Regions from separate parts of the Homo sapiens genome. Here region 1 is linked to region 2. The links are contacts of gene promoters, found by promoter capture Hi-C in human tissues and cell types (Jung and others, 2019). All regions are on one chromosome and are shown on one strand. Each heading gives the region's core, a stretch centred on a gene start or on the middle of the fragment in contact. The rest is flanking DNA. Distances are from core to core; before and after follow the strand shown. Region 1 overlaps TTBK2 (tau tubulin kinase 2). Region 2 holds the start of UBR1 (ubiquitin protein ligase E3 component n-recognin 1).

Region 1 (4,840 bases), core at 2,333-4,832, 320 kb after region 2:
GGTGCCCTTGTTGAAAATTAGTTGACCAAATAAGGTATCTGCACTCTCGTGTTCACTGCAGCAGTATTTACCATAGCCGAGATACAGGAACAACCTAAATACCCACTGATGGACAAATTGATAAAGAAAATGTATATGTGTGTGTGTGTGTGTGTGTGTATTGTATGTATTTGTATATATATATGCACACACAATGGAATATAGATGATGTATAAATACTTACACACACACACATAATGGACTATTATTCAGCTTTTTATTTTTCTATATTTATTTTTTTGAGACTGATTCTTGCCCTGTTGCTCAGGCTGGAGTGCAATGACATGATCTCTGCTCACTGCAACCTCCGCCTCCTGGATTCAAGGGATTCTCCTGCCTCAGACTCCTGAGTAGCTGGGATTACAGGCCTGCGTCACCACAGCTGGCTAATTTTTGTATTTTTATTAGATATGGGGTTTCACCATGTTTACCAGGCTGGTCTCGAACTCCTGACCTCAGGTGATCCACCTGCCTCAACCTCCCAAAGTGCTGGGATTACAGGCATGAGCCGCTACACCCGACCTTATTCAGCTTTTAAAAAGAAGGAGATCCTATCATTTGCCACAGCATAGGTGGAACTAAAAGACATGCTTAGTGAAATAAGCCAGACAGAAATAAAAATGTTGCATGATCTCATTTATATGTGAACAAAAAACATATATATATATATACACACACACACGTATATATATTTTAAAGCACTCAAATACACAGAGATTGAGAATGATACAGTGGTTACCACAGGGGGTTCAAGGAGGGAGGAAGGAAAGGAAATGGGGAGATGTAGGTCAAAGGATATAAAATAGCAGATATGTGGGATGAACAAGTGTGGAGATCTAATGGACAGCATAAGGAATAACCTTTATAAAATTGTATTTTCAGAAGTCTTGGACATAAATAAAAATAAAATTGTATTAGAGATTTTTGTTAAATAAGTAGATTTTAGCTGCTCTTTGTCACAAAAAAAGTAACTGTGAGTTGATAGGTTAATCTGCTTCCCTGTAATGACCATTTTACTGTCTATGTATATCCTATTACATCATGTTACAAAGCTCAAATACAATTTAAGGAAGTAAAATACTACAGCAGACTTAAGACCAAACACATCAGTCACAGCAATAAATATACATGGGGTTAACTCACCTATTAAAAGGAAAACATTTTCAGTTTGGGTTATATAGCTATATTCATATGCTGTGTATAAGAGACACACACCTAAAAAAAGTAAGAAAGAGATGGACAAAGATATATCAGAAAGATAGAAAAGAGAAGTGATCCTAATAACAGATGATGTAGAATTCAAGCCAAAACAAAAAACTTAGAAAAGATGGAAGGGCACTTTTTAATGCCAAATGCCACAATTCACAAGTGGGATACAAAATTTATTAATATTTAGTCACCAGAATCATGACACTCACCTTTGGGAAACAACAACTGCAGGATATTCAAGGAGACATAAAAACACACTCATAGTTGGAGATGTTAATGTACCACCCTCAGTTTAAGACAGATCAAGTGAACAGAGAATAGGAAGATAGAAGACTTAAACAGCGTGATCGTAGTAAGGTAGATCATATGTATGTTTTCTGAACTCTATACCTTGATGATAGAGACTATACCTCCTGCCCAGGGGCCCCTGGAACATTCACAAAAATTGATCAGGTATTAGGTCACAAACAAACATGTAAGTAGTTCCATAAAGTAGAAGTATTACATTATCTGATCACACTGCAAGAAAACTAGAAATTACCAACAAAATTAAAATATCAAAGGCCCTTTTACTGGAAATTTAAGAACCTATTAAACTACAGTCATGTGCCGTGTAATGACATCGCAATCAGTGATACACCGCATATATGACAGTGGTCCTATAAGATTACAATACTGTAGTTTTACTCTACCTTTTCTATGTTTAGATAATGTTATAATACCCAAATACTTAACCATTGTGTTACACTTGCCTCCAGTATTCAGAACAGTGACATGCTGTACAGGTTTGTAACCTAGGAGCAATAGGTTATACCATATAGCCTAGGCACGTAATAGGCTATACAATATAGTTTTTTTAAGTACGCTGTGATCATTTGGATAATGATGAAATTGCTTAACGATGGCATTTGTTAGAATGTATCCCCGTTGTTAAGCGATACATGACTGTACTCTTGGGTGAAAAGGAAAATAAAAACTAAAAGTTATAGAAAAAAATGATAATGTAAACACTACTTATCAGAATCTATGAGATAACTTTAGAACAAAGATCAGAGGAAAACCTATGGCATTAAACAAGGAGGTACATAATGTCAGTATGTCTCATTACTGATGATACTTATGTTGACAATTTGGTTACAGTGGCCAGTTCTTTCTACTATAAAGTTACTGTTTTTCTCTTTGTAAGAAATAATCTTGTGGGAAGATATTTGCAACTATGTCAGCACTGTGTTTCTTGTCATACTTTTCCTATTAATTGTAGCATCCATCAGTGAATCTTGCCCACAGGCCTAACCATTACTGTCTGCCCTCTAAGAAAAAGTTTGCCAACTTCTGATTTTTTTCTGTTTGCAAATGATATGGTAGAATACCTGGAGAATCAGTGTTAAAGAGAAAAATTTATAGTGTATGTCCCAGAACCCTGAATTTCTTCGTAGAGGGAGAATGAAAGTTTAGAAGGTAAGAGGACGCTTTAAATCATGAGCCAGCAAGCTTTATCTATAAAGGGTCAGATAAATATCTGTGAGCTATGCTGTCTCTGTCACTACTGTCATTGCTGTTATAGTGCAAAAGCTGCCATGGCCAACGTGTAAACAGACGAGACTGACTGTGTTCCAATAAGTCTATTAAAAAAAAATAGGTAAGCAGGCCAGATTTGGCCCACAAGCACTAGTTTGCCTTAGATTATGGGGAATGAAATATGAAAAGGATATTCGTTCTTACTATTTTTTCTCATATCTCTTCAGTTCTTCCACACATTTTCTTACTTATTCCCTTAATCTGCTTCAGTTATATAATACCTTGCCTGGAAACACAGACCATGTGCTAATAACACTCTTATGTATACTTTCTCACTCATTCATATTCCTGAACATGATATAATTTTCCTGGGAAGGAATTATTTCTTTCCATATTGCATACTCAAGATTTGGATCAGAGTTTAGGAAAAGAAACAATAACCAGGGAAGGAGAAAGGAATGGAGAATAAATGCAGAGGGAGGGTCTGGGTGGGAGAGGAACCTGAGTCCTATAAAAGAGAGCCTGTGTGGAGAAGATGGACGAGGTCCTTGGAGTGTGTGGTATCATATTGAAGCATAAGAGATAAGAGAAAAAGTAGGATTGAATGAAAGTAGAAGTGTATTCAGAGATGGAGGTGTGGTTTGTTTCCTGAGGTGTGAAAGAAGGAAATGCAAAGGAATTGAGGTAGTTGGAAAAAAAGCAGAATAGTGGCTAGACATAAGGGAAAAAGGGACTTGAAAGAATACTGAGTGATTAAAATGGAAAAAAGGTGACGATAATAGACTAAGCTTCTTGAGTTCAAATATTCATCTATTTCCCTTTCTCTTTCCTCAGGAATAGAGGGAATTCTTTCAATAAACATTTGGATTACCATGTAGTACATGTATGTTAGTGTCCATTATGACTCTTTTATCAATAAATAAATTATATTGAACTAATATCTGAAAAATCTGTTAGTAGCCAGTTTATTTCTGATCTTTAATTATCTCTATAATAAATCTGAACTATTGATTTGAACTATTTGAACTATTTTAGGCCAAACTACCTTTTAAATATGCTTCCACTGTCAGAACTACAGATACTACTTTACTAGGTTGTAAGTTTTTTTTTTTTTCTTTCTTTTTTTTCGGGGAGCCATTATCAGTGCTTTTCTAGATTATATCCTTGTAAATTGTTGATAAAGAGGTTCATTCTAGCATTGATCCATTTAGGCAAAGGTAGTGGTGAAGGTCATCGGTTACCAAGTCAGGTGGAACAAGTCCCTGAAAAATCACTGGTCTTCTCAGAGCATATGAAATACTCGTGACACCAGTGCCAGGATCTAACTGTGACCCTTAAAGTGGCTCACTGAGAGGATGTTGCCACTCACAGTAATTACAGGAGTCAGTATAATGTACTGAAGACTAATTTTTCTACTTTGAGACATTCCAGGTCACTTCTAAGAGGAGGTTTCATTGTGTGCTAAGTATTGTGTTCAGTCAGCAATATTTAAAAAAAAAAAAAAAAACCCTAGAATATAGAGTTACAGAACTGGCAGGAGCCTTTTCACTTGGTGAAGGAAAACTGTGAACTAGAAAAGCCTCTCATGGGAGGGTCTAAGGGAGCGATGACCAACCATATAAATAAGACCTGGAATTACTTTGAAAGAAATATATAGACAAATACCAATTAATATTTGCTATTTTTTCCCCCAGGTCAGTTCATGCTGAACTATATCAACTGTATAATTACAGAAAGTCTAGTTTCCCCTCTAGGGCAAGAATTTCCTTCCTCTTTGTGTTGCTAGGGCCTTGCATGTAGTAGGTGCTTAGTAAAAAGTCTGCAAGTGGCCGGGCACGATGGCTCACACCTGTAATCCCAGCACTTTGGGAGGCCAAGGTGGGTGGATCACTTGGGGCCAGGAGTTCGAGACCAGCCTGGCCAACATGGCAAAACCCCATCTCTACTAAAAATATAAAAAATTAGCTGGGCATGGTGGTGCATGCCTGTAATCCTAGCTATTTGGGAGGCCGAGGCAGGAGAATCGCTTGAACCCCGGGGGCGGAGGTTGCAGTGAGCAGAGATTATGCCACTG
Region 2 (4,805 bases), core at 2,203-4,702:
TCCCAGATGGTTACTTATTCTTTAAATGTTTCTTTTTTTTTTTTTGAGACAGAGTCTCGCACTGTCACCCAGGCTGGAGTGCAGTGGCGCGATCTCGGCTCAACACAACCTCCGCCTCCCGGATTCAAGCGATTCTCCTACCTCAGTTTCCCGAGTAGCTGGGATTACAGGCATGCACCACCATGCCCGGCTAATTTTTGTATTTTTAGTAGCGATGGGGTTTCACCATGTTGGCTAGCTTGGTTTCGAACTCCTGACCTCCAGTGATCCGCTGGCCTTGACCTCCCAAAGTGCTGGGATTACAGGCTTGAGCCACCACGCCCGGCCTCTTTAAATTTTTTTATTGTGGTAAAATATACGTAAAATTTACCATTTTAACCACTTTTAAGTATACCATTCAGTGGCATTAGATATATTCATATTGTTATGCAACCATTACCACTACACATCTCCAAAACTTTTTCATCTTTCCAAAATGAAACTCCGTATCCATTAAACTCGATTCTCTCCTCCTCTCAGACCCTGGAAACCACCATTCTACTTTCTGTGTCTATGAATTTGACTACTCTAGGTATGTATTATAAGTCAAATTACACAGTATTTGTCTTTTTGTGACTGGCTTCTTTTATTTAGCCTAATGTCTGTAAGGTTCATCCATGCTGTGGCATGTGTCACAGTTTCCTTCCCTTTAAAGGCTGAATAATATTCCATTGCATGTATATGCCACATTTTGTTTATCCACTCAGCTGTTGATGGACACTTGGGTTCCTGCCACCATTTGACTATACTGAATAATGCTTCAATGAACACAGGTATACAAACATCTGTTCAAGACCCTGCTTTCACTTCTTTTGGATATATACCCAGAAGTGGAATTGCTGGATCACATGGGAATTCTATGTCTAATTTTGTTTTTTGAGGAACTGCTACATAACCATCTGTTTTTGCACCACTTAATAAACAGTCCGGCTGGGCGTGGTGGCTCACACCTATAATCCCAGCACTTTGGGAGGCCGAGGCGGGCGGATTACCTGAGGTCGGGAGTTTGAGACCAGCCTGACCAACATGGAGAGACATCGTGTCTACTAAAAATACAAAATTAGCCAGGCATTGTGGTGCATGCCTGTAATCCCAGCTACTTGGGAGGCTGAAGCAGGGGAATTGCTTGAACCCGGGAGGCGGAGGTTGTGGTGAGCTGAGATCACGCCACTGCACTCCAGCCTGGGTAACAAGAGCGAAACTCCATCTGAAAAAATAAATAAATAAGCAGTTCATAATTTCCTTCTCACTTGAAATGCTGTTATCTTTCATGTGTAAAATACTTGAATTTGGTATAAAGTAATAAAGTGAAATGGATAAGAATAGGGCCTTGTGAGTCATTTGAACTGGATTTTATTTATTATTATTTTTTGGTAGAGGTGGGAGTCTTGCTATGTTGCCCATCTCAAACTCCTGGGCTCAAGTAATCCTCCCGCCTTGGCCTCCCAAAGTGCTAACATTACAGGGGTGAGCCATTGTGCTGGCTGAATATCTGCTGTGTCACTTGGAAGCTGCATGTCCCTAACCAAATTATGTAACTTCTCTAAACTTCAGTTTTCTCAGTTTCTCATGACAGTAAAATAGAAGTAGTAACATCTACCTAAAGGATTGTTATTAATATATAGCTAGTGTTATTAATATACTAGTGCTTTGATTACATTAAGATGTTGATAAGTGGCTATTATTTCTTTTTATTTTCTGTTTTTTCTTTTTCTTTTTTTTTTTTTTTGAGACAGAGTTTTGCTCTTGTAGCCCAGGCTGGAGTGCCAGTGGCATGATCTTGGCTCACTGCAAACTCTACCTCCTGGGTTCAAGCAATTTTCCTGCCTCAGCCTCCTGAGTAGCTGGGATTACAGGCACCTGCCACCACACCCAGCTAATTTTTGTATCTTTAATAGACATGGGGTTTCACTGTGTTGTCCAGGCTGGTCTCGAACTCCTGACCTCAGGTGATCCACTCACCTTGGCCTCCCAAAGTGCTGGGATTACAGGCGTGAGCCACTGCCCCGACCTATTTCTGAACGTTCTAGTCTATTTCATTTATCTAGGAATGAAAGAAGAAAAAGAGAAGAGCGTGGGGTAGCATAAGAGAACTACAGAAGTAAAAGCATAGAGACAGGAAGGGACAAGGTAACTTTTAGGGCAATTTTTATCAAAATGTGGGACAATACCTATTGTGGGTTATAGTATCACTTTAATAACTACAACCAGTATTTTGGCTTAAATGCATAAACATATTGCAATTGAATAGAAAATATGACATATTGGAAGTATTGTTTCAGAAAATTTAAGTTTCAGTATATATATACATATTCTATATATACCCATTTAATTTTGTATAGGTGTACCGTGATAAGATGTAAAATGTATTTATTGTGGTTGTTGGGCAAAAAAGGCTGGAAAAACAGTATTTTAGCACCCAGGAAGTAGTTCATTTGAGCAGAAACATTGTTTAGGCAGGAAAGTTCTATAAATCAAGGTGGACCACAGCATTTGGAAAGCCTCCTCTACTTTTCACATTGTTTGGAGCTTTATTTTCTTCCCTTTGTTAAAAATATACTTTAAAATTATTTGTTTTGTAAAAAATTTAAAATACAAATGAAGGTAAAGTAGCTCTTGACCACCTTCTTCCTCCAATCCGAATCCTGGCCCTCAGAGTTACTACTTTGCCCTTTCCCCTTTCAGACTTACTCCTTCACATTTAAATGCCTATGTGTGCAAATATATAGTTTGCAGCAACTTGGCTTTTTTTTCTCTCAATTTATCTTGATCTTTTCACGCAGATTTATCTTGCTCAAGAGCTGCACAGTATTTCAAAATGCGAATGTACCATAGTATATCTTGTCTTTCCTCTATCGATGAATGACTAGGTTTCCAATTTTTTGTTATTTCCCCCCGTGTCCCCCAATAAAGCTGGATCCCGAGCTTTTTTTGTACACATGTGCAAGTGCCCACGGGGTAGAATCCTAAAAATAGAAGATGTGTGAGTACTTTCTTTTTCATTTTGTAGGCTCTGGGGAACTACTGCAGGGAGGTTGGGATACAAAACATCCCCAGGCCAACAACCGGCCAGCTAGGACAGGTTCTTGCTTTAGCCCCCGACAAGTTTTCTTCCTTTCATAATGGACGCTGACTTTGTTTTTTTTACCTCGTAGATGCAACAGTTCCCAGCACCAAACCCAGATATACAACCATTCAGCTACCAAGAGCTACGCCTGATAAATTAGAGGGGAAAAAAAAAATCTCCAGTCCCTTCACGTCGTGACGCTTGCTTCCGGGAAGCGGGCCGGAAGCCACTCCTCGAGTCTGCGTCAAACCCGACTTCAGGGGCCGTCGTAAAAGTGTCGTCCCTGTCTCTCCGACCGGCCACAGGTTTCCGCTTGCCTCTGGCCGGGGGTCGGCAACTGCAGGCGTCAGTTTCCCTCAAGATGGCGGACGAGGAGGCTGGAGGTACTGAGAGGATGGAAATCAGCGCGGAGTTACCCCAGACCCCTCAGCGTCTGGCATCTGTAAGTCCCTATAGGCAAGTCTCTTTTGTCCTCCCCCCGGTCCCTCCCTACTGCGCTTAGGAGGATGTGGGGCTTCACCCCTTATGGCGGCTCTGGGGAGGGGGAGTTATCTGGATTGATCTGGAAGGAAGCCACCGAATAAAAAGTTAGTCGCAACCCACATTTCTGCCAGCCAAGTCTACGGAATATAATGACTTTGTTATGTATTATTCTTGATGATCTCAAGTGTGCATGTCTCTATTCTGAAGTAGAAAGAACCAGTGATGTTATTAGACGGTTTGATGTGGGGGCCGAGGCGGGGTTGGAGCAAGAGCCATTTTCGTATAGAAGCAGTACTAACCCTTTACTCTTGATGATGGGAACGCAGCACCTGGTATTTTATTGCATAGCCTGCTGGCCGGGACCTGATATTGGTAGGTAGTGCTGCTACTGTCAAGTCATGTCTAGATGTGAGGTGTAGTAATTGTCCTTGCGTATAGCATCTTGGGAACCCCAGGCCTAACCCTCAGTGGAGAAACCCATCATCTGTCGCTACTTTTTAAAGGTGAAGAAAGGACTCCCAAACATTTCAAGCCAGAGCAATACCATTAATTGATGTCGGAATCTATACTTTGCTCTTGCATTTTGAAAGAATGGGAAGGCACAGATAGTGAACAAATTTGAGTCACTAGCTACAGGGAGAAAGCTGCCGAGGAAGATAAGAGTAGGGGGCAATGTTAGGGAATGTTCTGGATGCCCAGGGCATCTAGTGTGGAGATATGTAGAAAATATTCAAATATCTGTCACCGCATGATGTTTTATTAGTTTGTCTTTCTAAATAGCAGCATTTAGAGATTTGGGATATACACATTTTTTCTGAAGTTTCTTTGGCTTGTAGTTTAATAAAAACATTATTTTATTTTATTTATTTTTTGAGGCAGAGTTTTGCTCTTGTTGCCCAGGCTGAAGTGCAGTGGTGTAATCTCGGCTCACTGCAACCTTCCGAGTTCAGGAATTGAACTGCAAATTCCCGAGTTCAGGAATTCTCCTGCCTCAGCCTCTTGAGTAGCTGGGATTACAGGTGCCTGCCACCATGCTTGCCTAATTTTTTTTATTTTTATTTTTATTAGAGACGGGGTTTCACCATGTTGGCCAGGCTGATCTCGAACTCCTGACCTCAGGTGATCCACCTGCCTCGGCATCCCAAAGTGCTGGGATTACAGATTAAAAGCATTCTTGAAGGTTTTTTGTTTTTTTTTTTAACCCTGCATACAATTG

What was found. Contacts are between HindIII fragments. The study calls those that stand out against the background at their distance.
Region 1: a contact is called between a fragment that was not itself captured here and the fragment with the promoter of UBR1 in region 2, in 1 of the 25 tissues and cell types used here (aorta).

The regions. Positions count from the first base shown.
Region 1 is chr15:42,785,174-42,790,013 of GRCh38, reverse strand. All of the region lies in intron 10 of TTBK2 (tau tubulin kinase 2), which reads left to right. Among named protein-coding and RNA genes, the nearest start is that of TTBK2-AS1, 48 kb to the right of the region's middle. The HindIII fragment of the contact is 4,613 bases long and covers 1,276-4,840 here.
Region 2 is chr15:43,104,685-43,109,489 of GRCh38, reverse strand. It overlaps UBR1 (ubiquitin protein ligase E3 component n-recognin 1), which reads left to right and starts at 3,452. Exons shown (of 47, transcript NM_174916.3): 1 at 3,452-3,548. The coding sequence starts at 3,468. RefSeq lists an enhancer at 3,354-3,633. The HindIII fragment of the contact is 7,070 bases long and covers 1,409-4,805 here.